Linked DNA regions of Homo sapiens: regions 1 and 2 are each linked to region 3. Evidence: promoter capture Hi-C in human tissues and cell types (Jung and others, 2019). All regions are on one chromosome and are shown on one strand. The core of a region is centred on a gene start or on the middle of the fragment in contact, and the rest is flanking DNA. Distances in the headings are between cores, read along the strand shown. Region 1 overlaps GBF1 (golgi brefeldin A resistant guanine nucleotide exchange factor 1). Region 2 overlaps GBF1 (golgi brefeldin A resistant guanine nucleotide exchange factor 1). Region 3 holds the start of NFKB2 (nuclear factor kappa B subunit 2).

The links. The method cuts DNA at HindIII sites, captures the fragments that hold promoters and counts their contacts. A contact is called where the count stands out against the background at its distance.
Region 1: a contact is called between a fragment that was not itself captured here and the fragment with the promoter of NFKB2 in region 3, in 3 of the 25 tissues and cell types used here (bladder, hippocampus and neural progenitor cells).
Region 2: a fragment that was not itself captured here is called in contact with the fragment with the promoter of NFKB2 in region 3 in 2 of the 25 tissues and cell types used here (neural progenitor cells and psoas muscle).

The regions. Positions count from the first base shown.
Region 1 is chr10:102,281,203-102,284,328 of GRCh38, forward strand. The region is part of intron 3 of GBF1 (golgi brefeldin A resistant guanine nucleotide exchange factor 1); the gene reads left to right. Among named protein-coding and RNA genes, the nearest start is that of GBF1, 37 kb to the left of the region's middle. The HindIII fragment of the contact is 3,528 bases long and covers 1-3,126 here.
Region 2 is chr10:102,325,677-102,328,713 of GRCh38, forward strand. The region is part of intron 3 of GBF1 (golgi brefeldin A resistant guanine nucleotide exchange factor 1); the gene reads left to right. Among named protein-coding and RNA genes, the nearest start is that of NFKB2, 69 kb to the right of the region's middle. The HindIII fragment of the contact is 7,490 bases long and covers 1-3,037 here.
Region 3 is chr10:102,394,398-102,397,308 of GRCh38, forward strand. It overlaps NFKB2 (nuclear factor kappa B subunit 2), which reads left to right and starts at 1,308. Exons shown (of 23, transcript NM_001322934.2): 1 at 1,308-1,399; 2 at 1,491-1,583; 3 at 1,856-1,937; 4 at 2,052-2,092; 5 at 2,328-2,426; 6 at 2,507-2,658; 7 at 2,905-2,911. The coding sequence starts at 1,563. RefSeq lists enhancers at 1-273, 1,324-1,373, 1,784-1,903. The HindIII fragment of the contact is 8,929 bases long and covers 1-2,911 here.

The sequences.
Region 1 (3,126 bases), core at 240-2,739, 110 kb before region 3:
TTTAGTGAAATAGACGGGTTGAGAGGCAAAAATAATTACGTAAAGAAAATCAACTCTATTGCAAGTCAGACATGAGGCACCAGCTGGCAGGAAACAGCTGGGATATTTCTGGGGGCTAGACTCTTCCACACCAGCACTTAACTCTTCAAGTGATCTCTGTTATCTGAGCTACTTAAGATAGCTACCTACCTTACCAACAATCTGCATAAAATACTAAATCTACTAAATTATGTGATATTTTACAATTGACTAGAACTTTATAATTTATAAAGTGGTTTTTCATTATAGCCTTTCAATTTTAGAATCTATAAAGCACATAAATTATAATCTATAAATTATATTTTTATAAATTATCTATAAATTATATTTATATAAATTGTTATATTATAACTTAGACTCATACATAATCTATAATAGATTATTTCTATAAACATATTTATAGAAGAGTTGTAAAGAAGTTCTCATCTATCCAATGCCCAGTTTCCCCTGTTATTAACATCTTACATTAATATGACACATTTGTCACAATTAATGAACAAATATTGATTCATCATTAATTAAAGTCCATACTTTATTCAGATTTCATTAGGTTTTTACTTAATGGCCTTTTTCTGTTCAAGGATTCCATCTAGGATACCACATTACATTTAGTCATCACATCTTGTTAGGTTCCACTTGGCTGTAACAGTTTGCCTGTATTCTTTTTCTTTTCTTTTTTCTTTCTTTTCTTTTTTTTTTTTTTGAGACAGAGTCTCGCTCTGTCGCCCAGGCTGGAGTGCAGTGGCGCGATCTTGGCTCACTGCAAGCTCCGCCTCCCAGGTTCCTGCCATTCTCCTGCCTCAGCCTCCTGAGTAGCTGGGACTACAGGCGCCCACCACCACACCCGGCTAATTTTTTTTTTTTTTGTATTTTTTAGTAGAGATGGGGTTTCACCGTGTTAGCCAGGATGGTCTCAATCTCCTGATCTTGTGATCCACCCGCCTCGGCCTCTCAAAGTGCTGGGATTACAGGTGTGAGCCACCGCGCCCGGCCGCCTGTATTCTTTTCAAGTTTCACAAAAACTCACAAGATAGACTGTGCCTTTATTAATATTCCCCTTTTACAGATAAAACTCAGGTTCCAGAAAAATTAAGTAACATTTTCAAGGTTATACAGTAAAAGCTTCTTTTAAAGTGTGATTATGATTTGGAAAAAGGCGATGAGGTTATTTATTTGCTTTTCACGTGAATAAGGGCAGACTTACAGCTAACCTTCAGGTGGGCCATTTACTGAAGAGGAACAAGAGACAGAGGTGAGTCTAGCTTGTTCCTGGACTCTTCTGTCTTGCTGGAGACAAATTAACATTATTATTTTAATCACAATTATTTTGGGAAAACCCCTTTCTCTTTGATTCTGCTATGTCTACCAAAGGAACTGATGGCAGAAAATCCTGAGTTAGCCTTGTTCCCTGGCAACAGACTTCAGGCTGCTTACTGGTCCCTGTTGTTGGATACCAGGTTCAGTAGGAAAGTCTGCTGAGAGTATAGCATGAACACTAACCCAACTAGCCTATTTCCAGCACGTGTGGTGTTAACTATCTGGGAATAGGAACATGAGTTTTTAAATTCCAGTCTCTAATTGGGTAGGCTGAAGTTCTGGCTTGGAGTAAGGAGATTCACAGAACTGCAGTGCTAAGAGATAGTAGAAAAATTTAAAAATTCAATAAGACATGGCACTTAACTGACTCTGAATGCTCTGTCCGGAGGGATGAGTAAAGGGGAGAGGTGAGAGGAGGTAAAGTAGCGGGTTACTAATGATCCTAGATACTATTAAAAGATTATCACAAGGAGGTGGAAACTATTGAGGTACAAACCATCAGATCTTAAGGTAAGGAGTCACTCATCTTGCCCAGAGAAGTAGTAGTGAAGATAGTACCTGGATCCTAAAAGGTAACTTTTAAAGTACTTCAACCTAAGATGACAGAGGGTAGGCAGTTTATTGATACCCTTAACAACCACTTGTTAGTAGAGCCATTTTAATTAATGGGAAAGGGGATCATTCTCCGTTTATGCTTTTATTATATGTAGCTATGAGCATAGAAGCTGTGTTTGGACCCTCTGGTGACTATTGCCCTCTTCTAGTTGTGTCCAGGCACAGGTAAATTCTTGAGGCCAGGAAGGGCCTGGCTTTATCTCCAAAAGGAAGCTGTGGAAATAGCAATGAGCAAAACAATGAGAAAGAGCTTTAGAAAATTTGCAAATATTGTGTATCTTCATGGCATGATGAAGTGGGATTAGGACAGGGGAGAAAGTATAAACCACCAATTATAGGAGTCTTTAAGGGCTTGGGTGACTGAGGCCTTCTGCTAGGAGGCTGGGAGGTTGTTGATGACAGCAAAGATGTAACAGGTATTGAATACTAGAGGATAGACCTCATACTCTGAAAATGCTTTTGCCTCAACAATTTGAAAGAGAAATATGAAAGACAAAGTGACAATATGAAGAATGACTATTCAAAGTGCTTCTACCAGTAAGTCTTGTCTGTTGGCAAGTTTTAACCTGTAGGTAGGGGAAAAACGTGGGAGGATCTCTTATTCAGAATGCAAAACAGGAGACAGTGAAGTACCTGTGTTTCCAAAGAACTCCGAATTGAGCTGTGGTGGAAGAGGAGGAAATTTCTTACTGTGGTCTTGTATAATGTGAAATCTTTGTGAAGTCTCAATAGATGTTAAGTCTCCAAGGAGGGGAGACTTTTTAGCTGCTAAAGAAGCTTAGGTTCAGTGAGCCTCCAGTGGGAATACAGACATAGACGTCCACTGACATTTCTGCAACCAGTTTTGGTGAGTGGAAAGCAACTAGGTAAGTTTCACTTTTTGCAAGAATCCCAAGTGACCCTTTGCACTATGGACTGAGGTACCTGCTTGTCTCTACAAAAACTATAGAGGAGACACGACAGGCTTTAACTGGAAATTGTTCATGGTTTCTTAGAAGGGAAGCTCATATCCTGTTAAAGCACTTTAGAAAAATAAAGTCAAATTAGAGATAAGAGGATCTTTACTTGTATTTTCAAGAGCTTTTTTAAAAAACTGAAGTGAAATGCATATAACATAAAATTAACCATTTTAAAGTGAAACAATATAGTGGCATT
Region 2 (3,037 bases), core at 312-2,811, 68 kb before region 3:
TCTCACTCTGTCACCCAGGCTGGAGTGCGGTGGCACAATCTTGGCTCACTGCACCCTCCGCCTCCTGAGTTCAAGCGATTCTCGTGCCTCAGCCTCCCGAGTAGGTGGGATTACAGGCACATGCCACCACACCTAACTAATTTTTGTATTTTTAGTAGAGATGGGGTTTTGCCATGTTGGCGAGGCTGGTCTTGAACTCCTGACCTCAAGTGATCCACCTGCCTCGGCCTCCCAAAGTGCTGGGATTATAGGTGTGAGCCACTGCGCCCAGCCTACACTTATAAGAGTTCTAAAATCATACAGTGTTAGAACTGAAATGAAGTATAGAGGTCACCTGGCCTATTTTATACGGAAAGAACTGTGGCTCGGAAAAGGTCATGTCATGCAAGGCCTCATAACGGAGTAGTGGCAGCTCTGGAACTAAAGATCTGTCTTACTTGTCTATTACTATGGTTATAATTTAATTTTTTTGAACGCTATCTGAGTTCTAAGTGCTCAGGGCCTAGTATGCAAGTTTACGCCAAGTATGTAAACTTGCTTCTAAATTGGAATGCTGATCATACTTTTAGCAATGGGGAAGTAAACACTGTTGAAGACATTTCAATATCATTCCCTTGGGGAGTAACAGGGCTTCAATGAGAATATTATAAGCTACCACCTGAAAACCTCATTTTTCTACAAAGGTTGCCCAAGGGGCACTGAGGTGGCAGTTCAGCTGGCTGTTGAGTCTCTGCTCCCAGACTGGTGAGTTGGGAAGCAAACTTGTTTCTTCTGTTCTTTCTTCATTCTCCCAAATAATACCAAGTAGGGGAAGCTCACCCCAAGCCCCCATCTGGCTTTCCTTTTTTTTCAACTTGAGGTATAATTAACATACAATAAAATATGCAGATGTTAGGTGTTCAGTTGGTAAGTTTTGATAATTGTATAAACCATGTAACCAGCATGAATAAAGAATACACAGAACATTTCATCTCCCCAGAAATATCCCCCATGCCTCTTTGAGTCCCCCAACCCCACACATATATACAAAACCATTTTCTATCACTATGGATAAGTTTTGTTTTTGGATTTCATATAAATGGAATCACACAGGATATACTCTTTCATAGCTAGCTTCTTTTAGCTTAGCATGTTTTTGGAATTTATCCATGTTGCATATATCAGTAGTTTTTTTCTGTTTTGCTTTTCTGAGTGGTAGTCAATTGTGTGGATATATAAGGAGAAAAGGTAGAGGTTGGTGAAGGGCTTTCATCTGGCACGTAGCCTGACTACCCTTTGCTCAAGAGCATTTGGACCACCAGAGGCCCCCCTCCTTAAGATTAAGATGTTCACTTACCTGCTTTAAATGTACCACGTCACAGCATATACACTATTATGTAGCTATGTCTTGTAAAAGTCTCTAATCGGCATCCATTAGATGAGCCGAATTCTCCTGGCCAAGCCTTAGCCTCTCAGGGGGCTGGCACCAAACAGGGAGGCTGGAGTAGGGTTTCAAACACCTGTTTCAGCTTTTTAAGTGTCCGATTCAGGCCACTGTGCTCTGGCAGCAGGGATCCTCATGATGTGGCTTCTTCTCTCCTGCCAAATCCTCAACTTAAAGAACCTAGGCCCTTAGGGGAGGAAAATATAGAGCTGGTGGAGAGGGGAGGGGTGTGCAGCAACATTGAAGAACTGTTTCTTTTAAAGTTAAATGCACATCTACCCTGTGGCTGAGCACTTTCGCTCTTAGGTATTTAGTCAAGAGAAACAAACACATTTACAAAGAGACTTTTATAGGAATGTATACAGCAGTAATAGTAAATAACTGGAAACAACTCAAATATCCTTCAATAAGAGAATGGATAAATTCTTTGGGAGTGAAGGACTTACAGAGGATTCTCTGGCGGCCCTCCTCTCTTTCTAGGAATCATTCTTGTTTCTATTCTTATTTCTTTCTGGATTTTTCTGAATTTGGTTGTGTTTTAAATGCCATGTAATGGAATACCCATTATTTGTAAGTTGATTGAGCATAAAGTATTTTATTATAAAGTGGTCATCCGTCACAAGAAGGCATGTGGCTGTAAAAAACATTAACTCTGCACTCTGGGCTGGAATGCAACTTTACCAGAATAATGGAGCTTTTGTATTAAGTGTGCAGTTGGGATAAAACAAGAGACAGACAGACAGACAGTGTTGGGGAAACAGGTGTTGGCTGGGCCCAGCTTCTGTCCCATGTTTTGTGAAATTGTTTTCCAACCCTTTGAGGATTGCTCCTCCAGATTCAGCTGTCTTAAAGGTTCTGTCAGCACCTTTCGAGCAAATAAGGTGTGACTTTTCAGGGTACTGCTGCTTCCATAAGCTTTATTTGTTTACTGTCCAGCTCACAGACATGTCTAGAGACAGCAGTGGCAAGTGATTACCATACTTATCCTAGCTCCATCTATTTTTGACGCTTTTGTTTTCCCCATCAGTAAAATGGGAAATATCCCTTATCATAAAGTTCTTGAGCCTTTTAGCATGAGGGTGGCTGAAACAGCATAAAGACTTCTTAATCTGGCTGGGCACAGTGGCTCATGCCTATAATCCTAGCACTTTGGGAGGCCAAGGAAGGAGGATCACTTGAACCCAGGAGTTCAAAACCAGCCTGGGAAATAATAGCAGGACCTCGTCTCTACAAAGAAAAAATTTTTTTTAATTAGCCAAGTGTGGTGGCACACGCTTTAGTCCCAGCTACTTGGGAGGCTGAGGTGGAAGGATTACTTGAGAGGTTGCAGTGAGCCGAGACTGTGCCACTGCACTCCAGCCAGGGTGACAGAGTGAAACCCTCTCTCAAAAAAAATAAAAATAAAAAGACCCCTTAGTCTTGTTGTCACTAAGAATTTATGATATGCTGCTGTAGTAACTATTTCCAGCTCTTGGGAAAACATTAACTCTGTACTCTGATAGTACAGTAAGTGAGAGTGAATAAGTAAGGTCCTATACACTGAAGGGATAGGGAAAGGTTACTTATCAGTCCTGTTATTGAGACTGGGGACTGTCTGATTCTTCTCCAGGAGCT
Region 3 (2,911 bases), core at 58-2,557:
TGGCTGCGCCAGTCCAGAGTTAAACTTTCAGCCAATGAAAAAGGGCGCGAGGCGTGACGCACGGAAACGTCATGGGAATTCCCCCCTCCGGGGGGCCGAGAAGGGGCTTTCCCGGCCCTGAGCCCTGCTGGCAGGCGAGGTGTCGCGACCGGTCCCAGGTGGGTCGGGCGCGGAGAGAAGCCGCAACCAGAGCCGCCGCCACGGTGAGTGGCTGGATTCAGACCCCTGGGTGGCCGGGACAAGAGAAAAGAGGGAGGAGGGCCTTTAGCGGACAGCGCCTGGGGCTGGAGAGCAGCAGCTGCACACAGCCGGAAAGGGCGCGCAGGCGACGACACTCGGATCCACGTCGACACCGTTGTACAAAGATACGCGGACCCGTACGTACACCTGTACCTGTGCTGGCGCACACACGGCAGCGTCCGTGCAGTCGCACTCGCACACACATGCACACGGAGACGTGCCCACCGGTGCACTGGTGCCTGCACCCACACCCTTCACGCACAAACTCAAGATACGCTCACCCGTGTCCGTACATCAAGACAGGCGCTGACACACACCCACACTGAGAAGCTCGGGATTCACCTATCTACACACATGCTCGCTTGCACACTCATGTTGACGCCATGGACACACAACATGCAACCAAGCACTACAGCCGAAACACACTTGTGGAGCTGTGATGGAGACACACTCTTGTATTAGGTGGGGGGGGGGGGGGGGGAGCGTGCAGAGATCTCCCTGTCGCCTGCGCGCCCAGAACCGGTGCGGTGTGGGACCAGCTGCTGTTGTGAGGTTTGGGAGAGAGAGAAAAGAGCCCACTCCGAGGAGGAGACACTTTTCCCGCAGCCCCAGAATCGCGTTCTCGGGGCAGAACCCCGGGGCCTCCCACAGGAAAGAGCCCCCGCCTACAGGCTGTTCGAAGGGGAGGCCGTCCGACAGCAGGAATGTCCCCCCAAAAGCCCCCGGGGTTTATCAGCCGTGGCCTCCCTCCTGGCAGAAAATCCCAAGGTTGCTCCAGACCGGGGGAGGGGAGCGGGAGGCGGACTTGGCCCCAGACTGCCAGCCTCCTCCCGGCCGTGAAAGACCCTCCTGTTCCCTGCCCTGGAGGGAGGAGGGGGCTTAACCCCCACCGGGGCTTCCCGGATTCTCCTAGACCTCTGCCCGCTGAAAAGCAGCGGGAGCCCGTAGACTGTCGAGGGCCTCCCGCCCCTCCCGTCGCGAGGGCGGGGCCAGTGGCGTCATTTCCAGGCCCGCCCCCTCCGGCCCCGCCTCCCCTTGGTATTTTCGGGACTTTCCTAAGCTGCTCTAACTTTCCTGCCCCTTCCCCGGCCAAGCCCAACTCCGGATCTCGCTCTCCACCGGATCTCACCCGCCACACCCGGACAGGCGGCTGGAGGAGGTCGGACCCTCCCCCAAATCTGGGCCCCCATCTCCCGCCCACCCCCATTTAGATCTGACCCCCTCCCCCACGCCACTCCTCCCAACTTTAGGCGGGCGTCTAAAATTCTGGGAAGCAGAACCTGGCCGGAGCCACTAGACAGAGCCGGGCCTAGCCCAGAGACATGGAGAGTTGCTACAACCCAGTGAGTCATGCCGCCTGCCCCTGACCCGGCCGGCTGCCCCTCGTGTCTGTCCACCTGTCTGCCCGAGCCCCCTCTGCTGCCTTACACCTGTATGCTCGCAGATGCTCTCAGCCTGCCAGTCTGTCCATCTGTCTGCAACTCTGCCTCCAAAAGGAGCTTTCTCTTGGGTCTGAGGAGGAGGGGGGAGTGACCACTGAAGACTTGGAGATGGGAGGTGGGGCTGTGGGGGGTGCTGAGAGTCGGATGCCACCCCCAGTCTGTCTCCAAACCAGGGTCTGGATGGTATTATTGAATATGATGATTTCAAATTGAACTCCTCCATTGTGGAACCCAAGGAGCCAGCCCCAGAAACAGGTCAGCAAGTTCACTAACCTCCCCTAGTCCTAAAGCGGGGGAGGGAGAGCATGTGCCCTCTCTCTGGGGGAGGGGCTGGGAGATCGTGGCTCAGCAAGGTCTCTCTGTCCCCAGCTGATGGCCCCTACCTGGTGATCGTGGAACAGCCTAAGCAGGTGAGTGAGCAAAAGGGAGGGTGTGGAATGGCTTCAGCTTTGGGGACAAATGGGGTAGTGGTAGCTGGCTGGCCATGGAGGAGCCATTGCCGAAGGAGGCCACAGGGGATTGGATGGTCACTGCTGCTGATCAGAGTGCTGTAGTTTGGTTCAGGGCTACTACCAGGCACTGCGGTCACTGCTGGCCTGGGTGGTCTTCCCTGATCACAATGCTACTATGCCCTTGGACCTTCAGAGAGGCTTCCGATTTCGATATGGCTGTGAAGGCCCCTCCCATGGAGGACTGCCCGGTGCCTCCAGTGAGAAGGGCCGAAAGACCTATCCCACTGTCAAGGTGAGCCAGGATGGTGCTGGAGGGTGGGCTAAGTGGACAGCATGCCCAAGGCCCTGACTGACAGTCCCTGCCTCTCCTAGATCTGTAACTACGAGGGACCAGCCAAGATCGAGGTGGACCTGGTAACACACAGTGACCCACCTCGTGCTCATGCCCACAGTCTGGTGGGCAAGCAATGCTCGGAGCTGGGGATCTGCGCCGTTTCTGTGGGGCCCAAGGACATGACTGCCCAGTAGGTGCCCTCTACGCCTGGCCCCCACTGGTATGCCCGTCTGCCAGTCCCAGGCCCCAGCCCACCTCCATGAGCTTAGCATCTGACCAAGGGGAAAGATGTAGGTTGGCCCCAAACCCAAGGGCCTAAGTAGAAACTCCAATGGCTTCCTTGAGGAAGTAAGGCTGAGCTGAGCCCTGGCAATGGGAAAGGTGCCTCAGGAAGAAAGAACTGCATGGCCAAAGGCCTCCGATTCTCTCTTCTCAGATTTAAC